Linked DNA regions of Homo sapiens: regions 1, 2, 3, 4, 6 and 7 are each linked to region 5. The links are contacts of gene promoters, found by promoter capture Hi-C in blood cells and fetal thymus (Javierre and others, 2016). All regions are on one chromosome and are shown on one strand. Each heading gives the region's core, a stretch centred on a gene start or on the middle of the fragment in contact. The rest is flanking DNA. Distances are from core to core; before and after follow the strand shown.

Region 1 (3,507 bases), core at 566-3,065, 600 kb after region 5:
GCTGGAAAGGAGATAGGGTAGGAATCATGTAGATCTTGCAAGACTTTAAAAACCTTTGCCTGGCTGGGCACAGTGGCTCACACCTGTAATCCTACCATTTTGGGAGGCCGAGGCAGGCAGATCAGTTGAGGTCAGGAGTTCAAAACCAGCCTGGCCAACGTGGAGAAACCCTGTCTCTACTAAAAATACAAAAAAATAGCCGGGCATGGTGGTGGGCGCCTGTAATCCCAGCTACTTGGGAGGCTGAGGCAGGAGAATCACTTGAATCTGAGAGGCAGAGGTTGTAGTGAGCCAAGATCACACCACTGTGTGATCACACACAGTGAGCCAAGATCACACCACTGCACTCCAGCTTGGGCCACAGTGTAAGACTCTCTCAAAAAAAAAAAACAAAAACCTGTGCTTACTGTAAAAGTGCCACATTAAACAAAAGCCACTAAATTCTCAGGGACATTAAACAACTTTATATTCATTTTGGAATAACTGCAGCTTTGACCACTGAAGATGTATGGAAATAGCATGGCTTGGCTACAGAAGGGTTATTCGAAGAAAGATTTCCATAAACTGCATTATCAAACAGTAAAATAGGATGTCCTAAGCTCCAATAGATTTTTTTTTCTTTTTTCTTTTTTTTGGAGAGAGAGTCTCGCTCTGTTGCCCAGGCTGGAGCGCAGTGGCACAATCTCAGCTCACTGCAACCTCCACCTCCCAGGTTCAAGCAATTCTCCTGCCTCAGCCTCCCGAGTAGCTGGGACTACAGGCGTCCACCACCATGCCTGGCTAATTTTTTTTGTTTTACTAGAAATAGGGTTTCACCATATTGCCCACACTGGTCTCGAACTCTTGAGTTCAATCTGCCTGCCTCAGCCTCCCAAAGTGCTGTGATTACAGGCATGAGCCACTGGGCCCAGCCCAATAGATTTCTTATAAGCGATTTCAATAAAATGAATTTGCTATGCAATATAATCTTAGCAAAGCTGCTGTGACCTTCAAAACTGTGTCATCAGCAGCATTAATCAAGAGTTCCAATTCTGAGAAGTGCATACAGAGGGACATTCAGTAGTTTCCTAAGAAAAATGGATTTTCACTGTCTTAATTTAAATGTTAATAGATTTGCTTTTAGTGTATCTTGACTGTCAGATAAAATTTTAGTGTAGTGTTTGCTTAGTATAAACATCAAGCAAGGCTTTTGTGTCACATTACAAAACAATTTTTTAAATTCCCATTAATCTTAGATCTCCATCCTTAATTCCTTTAGGTGTTAACATTTAAGATACTAAGGGAACAAAAAGCTTAGGCAAAGAATATTTAAATGTTCAATTTGGACTTTGGAACTTTCTAATTCATGTATTAAAAATCTTCCACTTATATATAATAAGTATGGAGACACTACGGATCATCATTACTGTAAGCACAGAAACTGAAAGATGCGGCCAGGCGCGGTGGCTCACACCTGTAATCCCAGCACTTTGGGAGGCCCAGGTGGGGTGGATCACAAGGTCAGGAGTTCAAGACCACGGCCAGCCAACATAGTGAAACCCCGTCTCTACTAAAAATACAAAAATTAGCTGGGTGTGATGGCAGGTGCCTGTAATCCCAGCTACTCAGGAGGCTGAGGCAGGAGAATCACTTGAACCCAGGCGGCAGAGGTTGCAGTGAGCCGAGATCGTGCCACTGCACTCCAGCCTGAGCAACAGAGTAAGACGCCGTCTCAAAAAAGAAAGAAAAAAGAAAAAAAAAAGAAAGGAAAGAAAAAGAAAGGAAAGGAAGGGAGGGAAGGGAAGGAAGAGAGAGACAGAGAAAGAAAGAAACTGAAGGATGGACACCTGGGCTTATTTCTCTCGCAAGGGTAGAGGTACAGAAAGCCCTCGCCCTCAATAACCACACATTTTTCCAAGTAAATATTACTTTTGCAGCAACCTAATACCTTCATTTGCTGTCTCTCAAGGACTAGTTCTCTAGCAGTAGATTTCCAACTGTGGCTGCTGTCCCACAGTACAAATTACGTTGTGACTTAGGACACACATACATAATAAAACCTAACAAAAAATGGAACAGTACTTACCCTTATTGAGTACAATGTACTTGTCAATGTTTAAAATGCTCATCATGACCCACTAATGAACATGCTATGACTCACAATTGAAAAGGACTCTTCATTTCCACTCAGTTAATGCTATAATTGGTGAACATAATACAGATGGCTGCTTTAATAATTTACTTGAACCTGGTTCTTAGCTCTAGTTATATGCAAGACAGTCCATAAATCTGTTTCCAGTTACTGGCAGTAAGTTTTTCTATTGATATTGCTGAAAAACTTAATAACTGTTAAGCTTTATTATATTAAAGGTGTGCCAATATTTTCCTTTGTGTGGAAAAATATTATATAGCTTTAGAACTAAATGTATACTTGGAGATTTAACCATTTTTGTTTTTGTTTTGTTTTAGTCAAATATTGGAGATAATGTCAGCAGTGAGAGATGAGGATCCACTGGAATTAGCCAATACACTATATAACAATACTATTAAAGTATTTTTTCCTGGAATATAATTGGTATATGTCTTCCACTTTCCATCATGTATGTAAAATTTCATAGTAAAACTTCCTGATAGTTTCAATAAAGAAATTATCTGCAAGTTGTCTAAAGAAATACTATATATCGGTACACACCATTCCCCACCATTCCCCTTCTTTTTCTCGTAAAATCAGATCAGGATGTTTTTATATCATTGAGTATCTTAGTTTAAAACAATTTAAAAAAAACTATTTTTGTTTTGTAATATCTTCAAAAGAATGAAAGGACAATTTTATGACAATACTGCAGACACAGAATGGCTAACAAATATACAATTTTACATAAAAAACATTTAGCACATTCTGGTTTATATCAAAGTTTAGTTGATACAGTTTATTTGTCAACCCTCAGTCTCTCTCTGAATCAGGACTTTCAAACTCAGCTCAATTACACTGCTACTCAAGTTTCAAAAAAGGTCCTCAGTTGCTTCTGGCAGCTAATTTTTTCTTTAGTTTTAAAATACTCTCTCATGTCCTTTATCCTCTGGTCAAATTATTTTATTTCCTTGACTTTAATGTGGTTTCCTGATTTGCATTTTCATTCTCCCACCCATTTCTAAAGAAAAACTGAGGTCCAAAGTTACATTATATAATTTCATTGAAGAATATTTGGCACAGGTGACGCACCATATGATCATTACATCTATTAAAAAGCTATTTGTTCAAATTTTGTCATAAAAATGTGAAAACATTTTATTCTATGTACAATAATGTACACAAATTTAAACAGGTCACCAAAGAGACCAGAAGTAATTAAAGAGGTATATTTACAGTAGCACATCACAGTAAACGGAAAACCATTCACAGATTCAACATTGATACTGTTTTTGTGCTTGGTTACACACTGAAGGTGAAGGATATTACTCCATTTTGGATGAACTGAATTTTAAACAAATACCTCAATCATTAATAAATGCTATTTTCATCAGTCA
Region 2 (3,076 bases), core at 249-2,748, 610 kb before region 5:
GGGCTTCTGAGAGCCATTCCCCACCATGCCCTGCCGTCCTGGGAGCATGCCTACCAGAAATCCAGGACACAATTCACGTCTTCTCGGACCTGCACACACTCAGCCGCTGGCCCGGCTGGAACTCAGCTGAGCCCCTATGTGGACGGTTCAAGAAAAACAATGCCTGACAGAATGAAACCTCACTTCCTCATGTGTAACCTGACATGAGGGCTTTCCCCACAACCCTTCATGGAAGCACAGGTTTCCACACTGCTTAGATGAGAAACAGAGGTTTGAAGTAATCATGCCAAAGCTCAGGCCAAGTCAGTGATGCTCTTGTCACTGTGTTGTGGCTGCTAGGAGGAGACGGTATCTGTTCCTGACCCAAAAAGTCCCATTTCACATTTCACAAGTCATATATGACTAAAGATGATCACTGTCAGCCCCCCAGCTCAAGGACAGGAGCATCTAAAATAAATCATCTACCAGACACTAACATAAATCATTTCATTTCAGCCTTACCATGACTACGATAAGGTCAGAATCATGACACCAATTGTACAGACATTGGGGGAGCTAAAAGTGATTTATCAAAGATCCAAGAACCAGTGACAGAAGATGGCATCCCAAAACCTATGCTCTTTCCACTACCATAGAGAGCACCATTGTGAACAATGCAGATTCCTGGGCTCCACCCCAGACCAGCTGGATCAGAATCTCTGAGGGTGGAACCCACCAATGTGCTCTTAAAAAGCCATTTCTGGCTGATCCCAGTGGCTCATGCCTGTTATCCCAGCACTTTGGGAGGCTGAGGCAGGAGGATCACTTGTGGCCAGGAGTTTGAGGTCCAGTGAGTCAGTGAGCTATTATTGCACCACGGCACTCCAGCCTGGGCAACAGGATAAGACCCTGTCTCTAAAAAAATAAAAATAAAAAAATAAAAAGTCATTTCTCTCCATGATTTGCGTAAGAAGAGTGATTTATGCCACATTTTTATGAAAGTGTAAGACGAGTGATTTATGCCACACAAAATTCCAGCAATACTAGGCAATGGCCCAAGATTTGTCACTAGAGCACGTGGCCTGGGAGGCTGATTCACAGAGTTAAGAACATGGTATCTGGAGCCGGGTTGCTTGGGTTTGAAACCTGGCTCTGCCACATACTAGCTACGTCACCTGGGGCAAGTCACGTATTCTCACTGGGCCTCAGTTTCTTCCTCTGAAAAATTGGTGTCAAAATAGTACATACCTGTATGGTTGTCTGGGAGATTGAATGAGTTAAGTTTGTAAAGAGCTTAGAACAGTGTCTGCCAGAGAATAAACACCCAAAATATTGTCATTACTGTTATATGATTAATTGTCCAAAATGACACAGGAAAGAGGAGAATTCTTGATACTGTCCCTGAAGGAGGAGGTCAAAGGGCAGAGTTTCAAAGTATTCGGCTGGATAAAGAGAAAAGAGATGAAATAACTAGCTCTTTCTTTAGTTTCTAGGCTGGTTCTTACGACACTGTTTATTCCTTGGGAAATGTCACCAGGAGCAAGTCACTGCAGTTGAGACGGGTCATGAATCGTTCTGCAGGGCTGAATCACAGCCGAAGCGTGGCCCAGGATGGTCAGGTGAGCCCTGTGACGGTTCCTGTTGCTTAAGCGCTGACTCCTTTCCCAAAAACTGAGCTGTGTTTGCTTTTGTTGGCCACCAGGGGGAAACAAATAGGACTTCCTCGACCTTACAAAGAATGAAAGGTCTGTTTTTGTTGTTGTTTTTTTTCCAACTTTTAAGTTCAGGGGTACAAGCACAGGTTTGTTACACAGGTAAACTTGTGTCATGGGGGTTTGTTGTACAGATTATTTCATCACCCAGGTATTAAGCCCAGTACCCATTAGTTATTTTTCCTGATCTTCTCCCAACTCCCACCCTTCAATATGCCCCAGAGTGCACTGTTCCCCTCTATGTGTCCATGTGTTCTCATCATTTAGCTCCCACTTATAAGTGAGAACATGCAGTATTTGGTTTCCTGTTCCTGCATTAGTTTCCTAAGGATAACAGCTTCCAGCTCCACCCATGGTCCCAGAAGTTCTTCTTAAACTCCTTGATAATTTGGACTATTTCCACTGCTTTGTTTTCACTCGTGTTATTTCTTCAAATGGCCCTACTTTCAACTTTTAGCTTGTTGTCAAGCTCCCAGCTGAATACTTCGTGGTAAAACTAACTCAAGCCAGATACTGTGCTGAGGGCCATGGGAGATAAGAAGAAACATAAGGCATTGTCCTTCCCTGGAGGGCAAGGGGGCATAAGCAATGCCTGCTGTGCACCAGACACTGTGCTGGGTGCCTAACATAAATTCTCTCATTTAATCCTTGCAACCACTACGATGCGGAAGGCCTTATATATTCATTGGTCAAGGCTTGGTTCCACAGGAATAATATTCAAGGCACTATTATTAAGCGCCAGGCACTGTACTGAGCCCCTTAGGAGGATTTTCTCATTAACGTCTCAGAATTACCCAATGAGCAGGTGCTACAATTATCTTCATTTTAAGCAGAAGAGACAGAGGCTTAAAGAAATTAAATAACTTACCCTCACCCAAGAACACAGAGGTAATAAGATAGATGGAATTCAGATATGAACCCACGGAGCCTGGTTATAGAACCAAAGCCCCCATCCTGGCCGCCTCACTGGTCCTGCCACAGAGCCTTTGACCCCTGCCCACAGAGCATTCTTTCTTCTCTGAATTCCAGTTGCATTTATAGCTTAGCTACTAGGGATTTGTATTTATTTCTTCTCTCTCACACGCAGGTAAATTTCACTCTCTGATCTTATTTCACTCGCCAGCCCCTTTCAGGAAAAGGACAAGTTCCTTGAAGACAGTGACCCTATCTTATTCTTCTTTCTATGTAGCTACCTTTCATCGAGCACCTACTGCGTCTGGCATTATAAAGGGCACTTTCATTGTTTAGACTTGTTCCCAGTGACACTGGGAAGTACATGTTATTATTCATATTTTATAGATGAAAGATTAAGGCTCAGATGTTAGGTGACTCTAGGCCAATGTCACCTAGCTTCCAGCTAGAAAATGCAGGACCCCTAAGCCTAT
Region 3 (3,482 bases), core at 810-3,309, 650 kb before region 5:
CACTGTTAAAAAATAATAATAATAAAAGCTATTACAACATCTATCAGCAAGAAATCAGGCTGGTCATTGTAAGTCACGTTTCCTCTCCTGGCTGGTAGAATTAGTTATGACCAGTGACCATGGCCTTCTGTCCTGAAGACTGTGCTCAGGTCTTCCCTCTTTTCTGTGACTCCTAGAAGCAAAAAGCCACACTCTGGGCAAATCATACAAATGAAAACCCTCAACAGTGGGATTCTCCAATTCAAGAGGCCTTCTTGGTGGTCAGGAAAATAAATGAGAAATATGTGCAGACAAATTTGATTGGAATCCTTTCAGAATCAGGAAATGAGGAGGAAAATTCCAAGAGCTTTGATTTGAAAAATGGAGACCCCTTCTGGGCTGTAGCACCTATGGTTTAAAATAAGCCAGTATCTGTTCTAAGGAAGATTGCTGGATTCAATGATGATGCTGTCAGTTCAGACAAAATACCACATACACACACTTGTTATCCACCCAATTAAAACGCTGTTCTTTTTTTTTTCTAGGTATGATATCCATTTAGAGCCCTATTAATTCTATACACCCTCTGGTTTTACAAAATCTCCAAGATTCATAAGACTGTGCTATAAATGAAACAAAGTGATTTCCAGTATTTGGGGCAACAAGATATTCTCACATATATGATGAGTGGTATCATTTAAACATGACAGCTTAAAGGGCAACTCACCCCCGCATCGGCACACCCACACCCACCCCTCCCCTGGTGTTTTTTCACTGTAGAGCTTACCACCCTCTGACAGATCATGTTTGTGTTATGTATGTGTTCATTTTCTGTTTTGCCTGGCAGAATGTAGCCTCCTTGAGGTGAGTATTTCCACTGTTTTGTTTACTGTTCTCTCCACAATGCCTAAAACAGTGGCTGGTCTATGAGAAGCACTTGTGTAAATCAGGATCCAGTCAAGCCAATACTGGCAATTTAAACAGAAAGAATTAAAATATATTAACCAGCCATAAAGTTATTGAACTGATAGCTCAAAGACTAAAAAGAGAACTCAAAGTAACTACCTAGGGAAAACGTTGAAATTACTAAAACGTGAAAACTTGAATAATGGACTCCGTGGAGCTGAAACTCAGACCTCTGGGGAGGGGTCAATGCCTGGCTGATGCTGGTGTCTCTGAGGTCAGAGAAGCCCTCATAGGCCTGAAACCCAGATCTGAGAAGGGGTCACTGCCCCACTGATGTCTTCAGGGTGGGGTGTGGTGAGGCTGGCTCTGTAAGTGCTGGAAAAACTGCAAACTAGAGTTACCCGCTGCTACACAGGGAGCTGCTGCTTCCAGGGTGATGCCCACAGGAACTGTGAGCCAACAGGAAGCCCTCGGAAACAGATGGGAAGGAACAAGTCTCCTCTTCCTCCTCCAGGCTTGATGTGTGGTCTGCAAAGTCCCAGCCCCAGAATCACAAGGCTAAGTGTGGAAAGGAAGTGTTTATGCTTAGAGGTAATGACTTTAAAAAGTTATCAGTAAAGACTTGTAGGAGAAACAAAATGAAAGCAAAGAAAGAAGAAAAGAAAGAGAGAAGAAAAGAAAAAAGGAAGGACAGATATACAGACGGCTGGACATCATTGAAGATAAAGAACTCCACGATATTTTGACTAAGACTAATAATAACAATGCATACCAATTATTGAGCTCTTAAACCATGCTAAGCTCTTTACACATCTACTGTCTTGTCTGACAATTCTATGATATAGGATTTATTATTCCCATTTTATAAATGAAAAAACTGAGAGAGTTTTAAGTACATGTCCAGGTCACAGAGTTAATAAATACTGAAGCAGGGATTTAAGCCCAACTCTCTTTAGTTCTAAAGCGCATGTTTTCTCATCCCACGGCCATTGGCTAGCATGTGTTTGGAAAATTGATATTTCAAAAGTTAGGGTTAGAATGAGAAAAGAATCATGCTCCAGTAAAGATATAGTTAAAAAATATGACCCCTAGGGTTGATTTTCCAATGAACTGGCTCTGTGCCCTCAAGTGAATTATTATCTTTGAGTTTGACTTTCCTGTAGAATGGAAATAATGAAACCTGTTCTGTGGTGTGGATAACAGATGGTTCACTTACATGAACCCACATGACATCAAACAGTCACAGTCATTCAGATGTGGTTTCCCCAAATAACTATCACCCACACTCTCTTCCTTGCTGAGCGAATCCCAGTTTTGCTTCAGGAATTAGGGTCCATGTGATTCATGGTTCCTCCTCAGCGCCAGTGTTGACTGGTTCAAGCCCATCATGTTAATTCTATCCTCCTTGCCAATGATTGGCTTAGAAATAGGCACATGCCACAGCCACAGTCCATATGAGAAAAGAAGAATCAAGCTGAAGGGGTTCTGGACACACTTTTCTCACTCTTAAAAATAAGCAAAACAGGGACTGCTTATTTTGGGCTCTGAGCATAGGTAGGTGAAAATGTGATGTCTGGAGCTCCTGCTGCCTTCTTGTAAATATGAGAAGAAGCCATCATCAAAACGCTAGCAATCCTAAAATTATTGTACCTATTGTTTTCTGAGATAACAACTTCTTTATTGTTTAAGCCCATTTTAAGTGTTCAGTATTCTGATATTTTAATTAAAAGCATTTGAATGGATCAAAAGCATTCTCTCTAGTATATCTTCATATGGCTGCCATTCCTCGCTCTCTTGCAGGTGACCTAGGCTGAAGAAGAGAGGGATGAAAAAGTTTTAAACTGGATAAGAACATAGGGTGTCAATGATTATACTAGACTGCACTGGAGTTACATTATTACATGGGACTATTCTGGAGTTATGCAAATTTTACTGGGCTGGGTTTTTTTATGTTAAAACAAAGGTGTTATTCATTTATTTTCTAATAGTGATTGAAAAAGCTAAGGAAACTCCCCATGATTTTATCCAGGGAGGGAGAAGGAGTAATCCAGAAAGTCAAGTCAAAAGGATATTGATATACCTGTCCAATCAGCTAGGTTATATGTGTATCAGCCACGCAGGGGCCGAGTTGGTGCCACCCTCACTGTGACCATGTAGCCTGTGCTGATGCCTCTTCTGCCTGTCCTCCAACCTGATTTTTGGTCTGTGTCTCTGGCCTCTTCAGGACCTAGTCCACCATTTCAGAGCATCAGTTGAGACTCTGAACTCTCAAGACAGCCTCCCAGCTGTGAAGTGCTGGCTCCCCTCCATCTCTTCATTTGCCAAATGGGAATAATAACAAAGGCCATCTCCAAGGGCAGTTTTAAGCATTACATCGCACTGTCAGCATTCACTCAACATTGACTACCTCGTTTTCTCACTCCTCTATTCAAATGCATCCTTCTCACTGACACTGCATTTTTTCATGATGTCTAGAAACAGCTCTCTTAGCATGGTCTTGGGAGTCCCTCCTATGAACTTGTCAGAGATCCTCCATGGCTTCCTGACCCCAGAAGTCCAGACTCAGACCCTGATGGAGCTTGAACCAGACCTGGAAG
Region 4 (2,996 bases), core at 45-2,544, 630 kb after region 5:
TATGTATATATGAGACACAGCACCATAAAATGAGTGTTGATTTAGAGTATATACTGTACCCTGGTGGACAAGGTCATTCCATTTTCACAGGCTATTATCTTCAAGCTTTTGCTTCAGTTTCACCTTCAAAAGGGTTTTTCATCATTCCATCAGACCCGCATTTTCTCGGTTATATAGTATGTGATAGGACTAGTGGATCTCATGGTTATGTACCTGCTGATACACCTCCTTTGCTGTAAAGTGCATCCCTAAATCAAAGGCAATATTACACAGGATACATGTTGATGGATCAAATACCTGTAAACCTGTGAGTAGTAGAGCTGGCCAACAACTTATAGGCAAGGAAGTCAAACTCATACATGCAGATGGGCAGTTTCTAGTCAAGGAGAATCACTGCCCATTCTAGGATGGAAGGAATCCAACATAAATCAATTTGCTGCCCAAGTAGCTGTTTGGTATCCTTGAGGGTTGGTGCTGTATCAGGAACTTGGTGTTTAACACTGGGGAGTGGCTATTTTGTTGTTGTTGTTGTTGTTGTTTTGTTTTGTTTGAGACGGAGTTTCACTGGTTGCCCAGGCTGGAGTGCCGTGGCGCCATCTCGGCTCACTGCAACCTCTGCCTCCTGGGTTCAAGGGATTCTCCTGCCTCAGCCTCGTGAGTAGCTGGGATTACAGGCATGCGCCACCACGGCCAGCTAATTTTGTATTTTTAGTAGAGACGGGGTTTCTCCATGTTGGTCAGGCTGGTCTCAAACTCCAGACCTCAGGTGATCCGCCCACCTCAGCCTCCCAAAGTGCTGGGATTACAGACAGGAGCCACCGCGCCCAGCCTGGGGAGTGGCTATTGGATAAGTGGAGGCTATCTATTGGCTTCTTGCTCACTTGCATTCCTGCAAGATGACTACTTTGTCATAAGCCCCCTGTGCCATTCCTGGGGGCGGAGGGAGGGGGCGGTGGAGCCGATGGTTGTAGCTGCTGAAGTTTACTGGCTAAATCTGTCTACTTGGTTATTTAATGCTGCTTACATGTTGGATTGTCTCTGGCAGATAAAGATTGTGTTATACAATACAAAAAGCCCTCCTTATGTGCCATATCTGATATATTTCTCCTCTGCTTCTCCAGACTTCTTGTCCCTGATATACCAGTCTTATTCCAGACCCCTGATCAACTAGCCAACTTATTTGCCATGAAAATATGTTCTTAGTTCAAGACACTTTCTTTCCACACACAGTTGATGACCAGGAATACTGCCCCACATTATGCCTTTTGGGAGGGTTCTCCTTACTGCTGTCTTTTAAGGCCAGTCCTGTGTGGGGCTGTAGGGCAGTAGCAGTCCATTTTTGTTTTGAACCTATATTCCAAGAAACCTCAGTGAATTCAGCTCAGGCTTTTTTGTCCTCCATAAGCTAGACATGAGAGCCTCCCAAGTGGCCATAATTGTGAGCTGAGGAAGGGACATTGGTAAAGAATCAGATATGACATGGGAGCCTGACCACCTGCCTTTGCCCAGCTCATGATGGGCCTCTCTGGCTACATGGTCACTTGATGTCCATAATCAGTTCTTACCAAGGCACATTAGCATGGATAGAGTTGTTTTTGGGATTTTGCACTGCAGATGGCCCAGCCTTGCCACAGAATGCCAGGAGTCGACCTTGTGATTCTCCCATTGGAGCTTGCCTTCAACTTTCATGGCTTCTTATCACATTTACTCTTGTCCCATAGAATATCCTGAATTGGTCCATGCAACAGGGCTAAATACACCATACCTGCTAGAGAACTTTTACATGCTATGGATCCCACTGAAAACTGGCAGATTTCTATCTCACCCAGTTTACGAGTCAGAACAGTACTGCCAACTTCTGAATTCCCACAGAAGCCTACACAGCTTGGTGTGCTTCCCTGGTGGCAGAATAATTTTGGTGAAATGAGTGGGTGAGATGCAATAATTTGTCCTTTACTGTGAAGGGGATATCTTGGCATTCAAGCAGCCTACTGGGCCCTAAAAGTTTCACTGAGGTAACAGCTTGCTGGGTCTTAAGGATTATTTCCCATCCTCCAGTGTACAGTATGCTAGCTGCTTATTATTCACCTTATCCAGCTAGCATGATGTCATCAATGTGGTAGGTCATTGTGACATTATGTGGGATGTTTAGATGGTCTAGATCTCTTCGGATTATGACGCAGTGTGGAAGAGTTAACATAACCCTAAGCCAATACTATAAATGGGTACTGCTGTCCTATATAAACACAAACTTAATTCTTGTCCAGCACTCTCAGGACCCAGTTCCATACACATGCTCATGGTTCCTGTTGGTACATGTTGGTTAGATCCTGCATCTCTTTGGTCATATAAGCCCATTTGGAATTGAAAGTAGACACACAGAATGAGGGCAAAACACCTGCAGAACAGCTGCTTCATCATGGTGGGCTTTTTTCATATTAGGTTTTGTTACCTTTGAGTTTTTAAATTATGTGTAAAGCTTCGATTAAAAAAATAAAAATTATTAAAAAGAAACTGAGACAGTCTATCCACCTATCTCTATTTACCCAGTGCTGTTGTTGTGTTACATAAAATTCAATTTTAGCTTCATGTTCATGCAATATTTTCGTTTACCCTTGATTCAACCTTGACCTTTAAAAAGCCAAAAAGACAAATACCTATTTTGACACTGGTTCTGATCTCTCTGAAATTCTGTGTGACCAATGGTCAAGTAACCTTGCAGGTTATTTATCATGTCTAATCTGAAAAAAGTCATTGTATTTACTAATATTTTAATATTCACCTTATAGGTAAGCATTCTAAACATGATTGTGGCAAGAAATTCTTATATGCTTTACATGTTGAAATTCTGTGTCAAATGAAGTACATATGTATATTATTGCAAGAGTGAATTTCTTCAGTAATGATTGTGACAGCTAGTAAATTTAAGTAGAAAGTAATTATAAACTTCCAAATACTTTTTTTAAATGGGCAAAATATATGAAACAATGGCCCTG
Region 5 (3,226 bases), core at 475-2,974:
ACACCAATTATGTTATTTATTTACTTATTTATTTATTTATTTATTTATTGTATTTTTAGTAGAGAGAGGGTTTCGCTATGTTGACCAGGCTGGTCTCAAACACCCGACCTCAAGTGATCCGCCCGCCTTGGCCTCCCAAAGTGCTGGGATTACAGGCATAAGCCACTGTGCCAGGGCCTCTCTTCAGTTTTCTATCTGCCCACATCTTACCCATATGCTAAAGTCTGAATGTTTGTGTCACCCAAAATGTATATGTTGAAATCCTAACTTCCAAGGTGATGGTATTAGGAGGTGGGGCCTCTTGGGAGGTGATGAGGCCCACTTTCATGAATAAGATTAGTGCCCTTTTAAAAGATGCTCCAGATAGCTGCTTTGCCATTCCACCATGTGAGGACACAGCAAGAAGCCACCTATGAACCAGGAAACAGGCCCCGGAACTGTGAGAAATAAATTTCTGTTGTTCATAAGCTACCTAGTTTATGGCATTTCCGTTACAGAAGCCCACATTGACTAAGATACCATCTTTCATGGCTTGGTTTAAGTGGTTCTCAACCAAGAAGGATTTTACCCCTCTCGCAAGGGGACATTTAGCAGTATCTGTAGACTTTGTGGTTGGCATCTAGCGGGCAGAGGCCAGGGATGCTCTTAAGCATCCTACAAAACACAGGACAGCCCTCACCCTGACCCCACAGCAAAAAATTATCTGGCCTAAAATGTCAATAGTGCATCAGTTGAGAATAACTGGTTTAAATCAATCTCTCTTGGATCCCTCCCCAGGTAATAACACTGATCTTTTTCTTCCCGGTACCTATGATCTCCAAGAAAGTTTAGAACAAGTTGTGCATTTCCTGAGTTTTTTCTCTGCATGTTATTTATAGACAATATGTTGACTTCCTTTAAATCCATGGGAGCCTTGTACAAGTCAGCCAGAGCTGCCTCTCCTTTTTCAACATGCAAGGATAATCCCTTCTCTCTGAATCCTTCTCATACAATTGCTTTTCCCTCCCTCATGCTACCATTATCCCTATCACATGCACATGTACACAACACACTCCTATTATGAAACTCATCACAACTATTTGCTCACATGTCTGCAGCTTCTTTAAACTGACACCTCCTTAAACTAGAACCCTGACATATTCTATTGCATATAAAGCAATTCCTCACACAAAATAGGGGACCAATAAAGATTTGGCCAGTTACAAAAATAACAACAGACATCATCATTTCTCGGTCACCTACAGAATGCCATAAACTGGTGTCCCGGCACTTTATTCTCCTTATCGCTAATTCTCACTGCAATCTACATAACTGAAGAGGAAATTGAGGTCCAGAGAGTTTATTCAAACGACCTTCCCGTGGCCTTACTTTTAAAGTCAGTTCAAACAAAATCTATTTGGATCAAAAATTCGTAATCTTGCCCCTACACACTTGAGGCGAAAGGATGGAGAGATGGCGTCTCGGACAGGAGGGTAAACTGTCCCAGACTCACTACCGTGGCGTGAAAAGTTCCACAACCATAATCCGGGTAGACGGACCCCCGGCTCGGAGTCCCCGTGGAGTGTCCCTGAGGGTGGCGAAACTCCTGCCACCCTCCCCATTGCCGTCCCCCGCTTCTTCCCTACCTGGTAGTCCAAGCTGTCTCCGTCTGGTGGCACCCCAATTTCCCCTGCCTAGACCCACCTCCTTTCCTCAGCCCCCTTCGCCTGCCGCTGAAAAGTGAGAGCGGGCTCTTGCGTCATCAGCCGTCGCCGGCGAGTGGTCACATGATGCCCCTCCCTGCTCCCAGCCGCTTCGGTCATGTGACCGCCTGGGGAGTCAGGGGCGGAAGTCGGGGTCTGACCCGCTCCAGGTCCGGGACTGCGGATAGAAGAGGACCGCCGCCTTGAGGGAGGGGTGGAAACTGGGTGCCGGCTCCGCGCGCGACCTCCGGCCCTGCGCGTGCGCCGTGGCGCGGCCCGGCTGACAGGTGAGTGGGGATGGAGTGAGCGCGCCCCATTTTTGCATGGCCCCCTTCCCCTCCCCGCTGGGCCGCGCTGGCCACGGGGAGGTCTGCAGAGTCGCGTGCAGCCTGGATGGGGGACTCGGGATGGAGGGCTTAGGGGCTTTCTGGGGCGGGGGCTGTAATCCAGCTCTTCGTCTCCGCTTAGGGGGAAATCATTTTGCACACCCCTTCCTCGCTTTAGGAAGCACCGTTCAGCTGCTTGGTCCGAATCTCATCCTTCCAAGTTTCCGGGAACACTGCTGTATGGATGTCGTCGTTATTTCTCTTTGCTTTTGAGAAAACTGAAAGGCTAGTAGTGAGGACTTTTACAGGCTGACAGACGTGGATTTGCATTCTAGTTATGCCATGGGCTGTGAGTTTGGGCAAGTCATTGCTGCTCGCCGCGCCTTAATGCCTTCACCTGTGACATACTGATGTCAAAATCCTTTGCATTTGGGGGAAAAAAAAAAAGTTCCCAGGGCCCTGATTCCTGGGATCGGAATCAGGATTATGATCGGACAGGAGAAAGAAAAAAAGTCACAGAGCCATAAAACTGGGTCTCCTGATTGCAAGCGCATGGAGCTCCCTCAAACATAGGTGAGGCGTAGTGAGGGCGAAGTTTTACTGTCTTTGTGCACTACAAGGGACACCTTCTCTAATTGTCCTTCACCTGCCTTTCCCAGGATTTCAGGTTCAGCCTCATTTCAGAACTTTTCTGGAAAATATATGCAGCTTGCATTTATCTTGATCAGCAACCGTTATATTTTGTTTGTGATAATGGATTTGTGGAGACCAGTGCTTCCTTTATGGAACTGAGGTTTTGCGAAAGGCTAAAAATAGACCTGCCTTCTTTTGTCCTCTGAAGAGGGTAAACTGTTTGTCCACGACAATTCGATTTCCTTAAGAAATATTATTCTGTACTCAGGGTAATTGGTGTAAGGATGTCATGCCTTATTCTTGAAAGCATGTCTTTTGATTAGGATTACTTCCCAAACTGAAAATCACAGTTCCACGCCAAATTATTAAAAATGAAGTTACCGGCACTTGTAAAAGAAAATAAGAAAATATAGTGGGATCTCTGGATTTCATGCCAATAATAATATAGCCTGTATTGAGAAAACTGATCTTCAAGTGTTCTTGATCCCTAGCACCAAGAGAACCTCTGAAAGGATAATTTAACATAGCTTCTTCTACAGTGTTTATTTGGACCTAATTCTAAAGTGGTTTTTTAAGACTTAGCTG
Region 6 (3,320 bases), core at 1-2,500, 640 kb after region 5:
CCAGCAGCCCTCATGGCTGCTCTGTCTATGGAATAGCCATTCTTTTATTCCTTTACTTTCTTAATAAACTTGCTTTCACTTTGCACTGCGGACTTGCCCTGAATTCTTTCTTGCATGAGATCCAAGAACCCCATGTTGTAGTCTGCATTGGGACCCCTTTCCTGTAACAAAATGATGATCTGAATTTGGAGAAAGCTTTCCCATAGCCTAATGCTGCTCTCAGGTTAGCATCAGCAGCCACCTTATTTTCTGAAAGTGAAGAGTCAGATACAGCTCCCTTTTTCCCTTTTCATGCAGATATAGTCATCACTGTTTCATTGTCCTTTGGTCCAAGAAACAACTATTTGAAAGTCAGAAGGATCTGAGTTCCAGTAAATCGTATCACCCCTCAAAATTGGAATCTTCACTTATAAAATGGAATCTAATCTTCAGAAGATTGCTATAGTGAGTAGAGACATTATAGTGTCTTAGACAATAACTAGTAAAGAGTAGATACTTAAAAAGATACAAAGTAACAAGTTGGCTAGCTCACAGGTACTAAATACCTGTTGAAATGCTTTGATATTCCTAAAGAAGACAAAGGGGAATTCCATATAGACTAAATCAAATAGTTGGATATAAGAACTGTAAAGAAACCCTATCACTTCTACTTCACTCCCGCTGTCAGAGGAGTCCAAACCAGAGTGACTCCATCTTGAATAAAGGCTGAATAAAGCAAAACCTGCTGGGTTACATTCCCAGAAAGTTAAGTACTCTCCATAATAAGACTGAGGCAGGAAAATAGGGTCTGGAGGCAGGGAACCTAAGGCTGATTCACACTGACTTCGTAGAACTAAATCAAAAGGAAAAAACCAACTATCTATGCCTAAGTAACAGAAGGACCAGAGGTTACTCCCTTTGCAAACCTGCTTTTCTGCAGGGCAGAAGGAAAATTGAAAGTACCTCTGATTGGTTGCAGAAAGCCACCAATCAATCCAAATACCCACTAGAGGTTTCCCATTGGCCACTTGGTGTGCACTCCATGCAAATGAAATAATGGCCTCAATCAGACGTTTGCATAGGAGTGCAACTTTGTAACTTTACTTCAGCCTCTGATTGCAGGCCACTACTTCATTTGCATGGGGTGAACACCAAGTGACCAGTAAGAAACCTCTAGTGGGTATTTGGACCCCAGAAGATTCTGTAACCCAGCTGTTGAGCCCCTAGACAGGGGCTGCTCCCATCCTGGGGAGTGTACTTTCATTTTCAATAAATCTGATTTTGTTGCTTCATTCTTTCCTTGGTTTGTACATTTTGTCCAATTCTTTGTTCAAGATGTCACGAACCTGGACACCCTCTACCCATAACAAGACCTTTTGGCTGAACGAGCTAATGATTCTTACTCACTAAACAAGACCCAGAACTTAAGAAGATGTCCTGATATCTTGAGAACAGAAAGCATTATTAGTTTAAGAATAGGTTTCTCTTTAAAGATAATAGTATTTTCATAAATGTTTGCTGAAATCAATAGTTACACAGAGAATAACACTACTAATACTCTGTCACAAGTGGATCACAAGCTGTTGTACTAAAGCACATGAGACCATTATTCTTAGCTAGCTACATAATTTTTGGTGTGGGGTCCTCCTCTCGCCTTCTGAGAACACCCTACTCTGTAATAGAGTAGTCTTTAATAAACTTGCTTCTTTCACTGTGCTCTGTGACTGGCCCTAAATTCTTTCCTGTCTGAGATCCAAGAACCTGTTTTTTGGGTCTGGAACAAAATTCCTTTTAAGTAACATTTCCTGTGGCAACTCCCAAGGACTTTATTGAGGTGAGACCTTCAACCCAAAAGAAATAGACTGCGCAGGACCAACTGACTGACTTTGGGTAAGAAGGGGAATACATTTTTATACCGATGAAGGACAAGGACACTTATCTAAGATTGGGTTTGAGGCCTACTTGGGAGGATTAAAGGCCCCTCACAGCTGAAAATGGGTTTAGCACAATGGGATGTTAACCATTATTCACTGTGGATTCGTCCTCCTTGTGCTCTCTGTAAGAGCTTTCCAAAGGCTGCCACTTGCCAGTTTCCTGATTGCTTTCTATGCTTTACTGCTACTTTATGAGAGAGATCTTGTTGAACTGGTCCTGAGGTTTTTAACTTTCCTTTTTCTTGTTTGCCTTTGGGTTATGGGCCATTTGCCTGTTGTTCTGGCATGTTGCTAGAAGACATTGGGGACAAATGGCTCTGTAATATTTACTTTCCCTAGATCTAGACCACTTAAATGAATTGTTTATTGTCTCTCCTTTTTTGCAAAGCTTACTTGGAATTTCGCATTTACAAGTTTTAAATGAAAAGGTCCAATGTGAAAGATTAAGCCTGGCAGCAATTATACCAGTCCCCCCTAGGTGAACTGCTCCAGGATGGAAAACTGGAGATTGCTTTTCAGCAGTTCTTTTTCATCTCCTTGCTAATGGAATGACTTTTACTTTTTGGTTACAAATGGCAAGGCCATGTAAATCTTGTCCTGCTTGCCGCTACTGGCCTGAACTTGGACATTCCTTTCTAGAACTTTGTCATTTCCCTTCTCTAGTGAAACATTTCTTTTGCTGAGTCCCCTATTGTGGTCTTTACTTTTGATTACCTAATAATCTTTTGGTTTCTGTGTTAACTTGGACAATTCTTCCCCGTGGGTTTAGGGACAGGCTTTACTTTCTTCCTTTATGTGGCTGAGAAACAAGGGACAGCCCTAAATGTTCTTGTCTAGAAACAGGGATACATCCCTTGACCCATGGCATATTTTTCTAACCAATTGACCATGTGGCTTCAGGATGACTCAGATGTTTCAGGGCAGTTGCAACAACTGCTCTTCTCATAGATGAAGACAATAAATTAACTTTGGGACAACATCTGGAGGTTTTGACCCCACACCAAATAACAGAGGCCCTAGAAGCTAAAGGGCACCAATAGATGAGTAGGGGATAGTTATTAAATTATCAGGCTTTATTGCTAGATACTCTTGATATAACTCTTAAAGTATAACAGAAGACCTTAATCCTAGCTACGTATCTACTTGGATCCAAAGGCACCCTAGATCATTCATGTACACAAGCTATGGAACAAATTTATTCCAGCTGGCAGGATTTAAAAGACGGGCCACTAGGGCTGGGTGTGGTGGCTCACACCTGTAATCCCAGTACTTTGGGAGGCTGAGGCAGGCGGATTACTTGAGGTCAGGAGTTCCAGAACAGCCTGGCCAACATGGTGAAACCCCATTTGTACTAAAAATACAAAAATTACCTGGGCGTGGTGGTGCACACCTGTAGTCCCAATTACT
Region 7 (3,171 bases), core at 664-3,163, 620 kb before region 5:
TAAACACTAAAATATTAAAAACACAAAATAACTTCCAAATGGTTAGAGGAGAAAGGGAAGACTAAAGAAAAGGCAATCAAACTAAAAGACAGGGACAGGGATTTAGAAAAAAAGCATTAACAATGCAAATAGAAAAGTGAAGTGATAGGACTAAATCCAAATAGATCGGAACCCAGAGTAAATGTGGACTAAATTCTCCAGTTAAAGACAAAATGGTTACCAGGTTTGGGGAAAGAAATATAGAAGATGAGCCTGGAACACATTATGCCAGAAAGCAAAAATGTTATCAAAGATTACAGGGGTCACATCAAAAGGATTCAGGATCCCACTTGAAGAGGCTTCCACAGGCCAAAGTTGGGACAATTTGAAAATGCATCAGTAAGGATAATTGCAATGGATGGAAACTAGAAAATACATTTGCAATATCAAAACATAAACTCTATTAGCAAACATGTAAGCAAAACTGCAATTAAGTGACATCTCAAATATATCATAGTGATAATGGTATTTATTTTTAAATAAAATAAAATAAAAATAATTTTTCATTTTACTTTAAATAAGATAAAATTATTTATTTTCATAATAAAAATATGTTGCCCAGGTTGGTCTCAAACTCCTGGCCTCAAGCGATCTTCGCACCTCAGCCTCCCCAAACCCCTGAGATTACAGCGTGAACCAGCATGCCAAGTCCTATAATGGTAATTTTAAACGGTCATATTTGATCAGGTGCAGTGGCTCAAACCTGTAATCCCAGCACTCTGGGAGTCCAAGGCAGGCAGATCACTTGAGGCCAGGAGTTTGAGACCAGCCTGGGCAACATGGTGAAACCCCGTCTCTAATAAAAATATAAAAATTTTGCGGGTCTTGGGGGCATACATCTGTAATCCCAGCTACTCAGGTGGCTGAGGCAGGAGGATTGATTGAACCTAGGAGGTGGAGGTTGCAGTGAGCTGAGATGGTGCCACTGCATTGCAGCCTGGGTGACAGAGTCAGACTCTGTCAAAAAAAAATAAGGAAATCAACTACTTCTTTTTTTTTTTTTTTTTTTTTTTTTTTTTTGAGACGGAGATTCACTCTTATTGTCCAGGCTGGAGTGCAATGGTACGATCTTGGCTCACTGCAACCTCCACCTCCCAGGTTCAAGCAATTCTCCTGCCTCAGCCTCCCGAGTAGCTGGAATTACAGGCACCCACCACCACACCCAGCTGATTTTTTTTTTTGTATTTTTAGTAGAGATGGGGTTTTGACATGTTGGCCACACTGGTCTCGAACTCCTGACCTCAGGTGATCCACCTGTGTCAGCCTTCAAAGTGCTGGCATTACAGGCATGAGCCACCACGCCCAGCCATCAACTTCTATTTTTAGAAAGCTAGTAAGAAAAAGGAAAAACTCAAGCATCCATCCTGCCTTTCTCGTGCAAACAATACCTAAGGGTAACCAAATAATTAATAGGGAAAATATCTTATTATTAAATGATCCCATCTATTAAATGAAGAAAGGTTATAGAACTGGAATATAGAAGGAATATAGAATCACCATTTTGCAACCCTACTACAATGACAGATCCAGTCCAAGATTTGACAAGGTTTTTGTTAAAGGCCAGATAGTATTTTAGGCTTCACAGGCCTAAATGGTCTTTGTGGCAACTACTCACCTCTGCTCAAAAGAAGCCATAAACAATACACAAATGAATATGTATGGCTGCATTCCAATAAAGCTTTACTTACAAAAACGGGCAGTGGTCAGGATTTGGCTAATGGGCCACCACAGTTTGCTGACCTCTGATCTGGATGGTGGTCATCAATGTTTCCTAACATCTCAAAAAGAGAGACAATCCTACTGACCAAGCACTCTCAAGCACGATGCAGCTAACTTAAAAACAATAGCAAAAGAAAATCATATTCAGAAATGTTTAGTTACACTTCTAAAGATTTCAAAGATCAAAGAATAAATCAAAATGTAAATCAGAAAACGTTTAGAACTAAATGACAGCAAAAACACTGCATCGAGCTTGCAGAATTCACCTAAAGTGGTACTTAGAGGGAAACTATAGCCTTTAATATTACATTAGAAAAGAGGGAAGATTGAAAATTAATGAGATAAGCTTGCAAACATTTAGGGAACTAACAACAAAATAAATCCACAGAAGTAGAGGAAAATACATACTAAAGACAAGAGGAAAAGTTAGTAAATTGGAAACAAAAATACAAAACAGAGAAAAAAAAGAGCCAAAAGCTGATTATTTGAAAAGAACAGTAAAACAGACACAGCAGGTAAACCAGCTAACATTCACACTTCAAACAGTCAGGATAGAAAGGAACCAATAAATTTCACATTAAAAATGCTGCAAATGACAGATTGGAAAGATTAAAAAGAAAGGCAATATTTTGTTTACTAATGATTGCAAACAACAAGGATTTATTCCAGGGGTTCCCAATCTTTTACCTAGGTACATATAATTCTTCGTGTTTTATTCAGAATCCATTATTTTATACTTGATTCTGCCTCTTCATTTCTCCTACTCCACTGAACTTCCCTGCTCACCCTCAGCTGATTGATAACCTCATCTCAATGTCACTGAGGAAATAGAAACCATAGGTGGCAGTCCCCAAACTTCTCTCACTTCCCTAAATTTACTAACCCACCTGCCCTGGACCCATTTTTTTACAAGCTCAAACCCTTACAGTCACATTTACAAATGACTTTTCCTGGCCTCCCTTTTTGTAACTGGTGTTTGAAGATTTTCTTCCCAACGTTGTGCTCAGCAGGTCTCCTCCATCCCACTAACAATGTCATTAACACACAAGTGAACAGGTGCAGCTGCCTCTTACCCTGGCTCCCTGACTTCTGTCATTTTCCCCCAAATCACTCTAGCAACAACAGACAATCTAATTTCTATTTTTAAAAAGGTAAATGAAAGAAAATGAATCATGCTCTTCAGCTCCAAAGCCATCCACAATCCCTCCTGCCCATCATATGAAGACTAAACTTGGTGTTGGCCATGCAAGCCTCCAGCTTCCCCCCAGCCCTGTCCTCCACTGCACTCCTGCCTTTCCAGGATATCCTTTCCCTGCAGACTTGCTCATTGAAGGACCCCTTCCTGGGAACTGCCTACATCTCCTCCCTCTCTCCCAAACTCCCATGAACTTCATCTATATAAAGGATTTGGGG

What was found. The method cuts DNA at HindIII sites, captures the fragments that hold promoters and counts their contacts. A CHiCAGO score of 5 or more calls a contact.
Region 1: a fragment that was not itself captured here is called in contact with the fragment with the promoter of NSMCE2 in region 5 in 3 of 17 cell types (naive B cells, fetal thymus and erythroblasts); the score reaches 7.1 in naive B cells.
Region 2: a fragment that was not itself captured here is called in contact with the fragment with the promoter of NSMCE2 in region 5 in 16 of 17 cell types (neutrophils, total B cells, M0 macrophages and 13 more); the score reaches 22.6 in neutrophils.
Region 3: a fragment that was not itself captured here is called in contact with the fragment with the promoter of NSMCE2 in region 5 in 1 of 17 cell types (neutrophils); the score reaches 7.6 in neutrophils.
Region 4: a fragment that was not itself captured here is called in contact with the fragment with the promoter of NSMCE2 in region 5 in 1 of 17 cell types (erythroblasts); the score reaches 6.3 in erythroblasts.
Region 6: a contact is called between a fragment that was not itself captured here and the fragment with the promoter of NSMCE2 in region 5, in 2 of 17 cell types (fetal thymus and naive B cells). The highest score is 5.2, in fetal thymus.
Region 7: a contact is called between a fragment that was not itself captured here and the fragment with the promoter of NSMCE2 in region 5, in 4 of 17 cell types (neutrophils, naive B cells, total B cells and 1 more). The highest score is 8.8, in neutrophils.

Annotation. Positions count from the first base shown.
Region 1 is chr8:124,487,638-124,491,144 of GRCh38, reverse strand. RNF139 (ring finger protein 139) reads right to left here. Exons shown (of 2, transcript NM_007218.4): 2 at 2,527-3,507. The coding sequence ends at 3,501. It overlaps TATDN1 (TatD DNase domain containing 1), which reads left to right. Exons shown (of 12, transcript NM_032026.4): 12 at 2,449-2,647. The coding sequence ends at 2,551. Among named protein-coding and RNA genes, the nearest start is that of RNF139, 15 kb to the right of the region's middle. The HindIII fragment of the contact is 1,041 bases long and covers 1,295-2,335 here.
Region 2 is chr8:125,695,488-125,698,563 of GRCh38, reverse strand. No RefSeq gene overlaps it. Among named protein-coding and RNA genes, the nearest start is that of LINC02964, 180 kb to the right of the region's middle. The HindIII fragment of the contact is 4,191 bases long and covers 1-3,076 here.
Region 3 is chr8:125,744,123-125,747,604 of GRCh38, reverse strand. No RefSeq gene overlaps it. Among named protein-coding and RNA genes, the nearest start is that of LINC00861, 210 kb to the left of the region's middle. The HindIII fragment of the contact is 5,314 bases long and covers 1-3,482 here.
Region 4 is chr8:124,463,788-124,466,783 of GRCh38, reverse strand. It overlaps RNF139-DT (RNF139 divergent transcript), which reads left to right. Exons shown (of 2, transcript NR_108047.1): 2 at 1-2,996. Among named protein-coding and RNA genes, the nearest start is that of RNF139-DT, 9.3 kb to the left of the region's middle. The HindIII fragment of the contact is 2,374 bases long and covers 108-2,481 here.
Region 5 is chr8:125,090,358-125,093,583 of GRCh38, reverse strand. It overlaps NSMCE2 (NSE2 SUMO ligase component of SMC5/6 complex), which reads right to left and starts at 1,724. Exons shown (of 8, transcript NM_173685.4): 1 at 1,626-1,724. It overlaps WASHC5 (WASH complex subunit 5), which reads left to right and starts at 1,792. Exons shown (of 29, transcript NM_014846.4): 1 at 1,792-1,969. RefSeq lists an enhancer at 1,633-1,852 and a silencer at 1,903-2,072. The HindIII fragment of the contact is 6,790 bases long and covers 1-3,226 here.
Region 6 is chr8:124,446,871-124,450,190 of GRCh38, reverse strand. No RefSeq gene overlaps it. Among named protein-coding and RNA genes, the nearest start is that of TYW2, 2.3 kb to the left of the region's middle. The HindIII fragment of the contact is 2,106 bases long and covers 198-2,303 here.
Region 7 is chr8:125,713,375-125,716,545 of GRCh38, reverse strand. No RefSeq gene overlaps it. Among named protein-coding and RNA genes, the nearest start is that of LINC02964, 200 kb to the right of the region's middle. The HindIII fragment of the contact is 387 bases long and covers 1,720-2,106 here.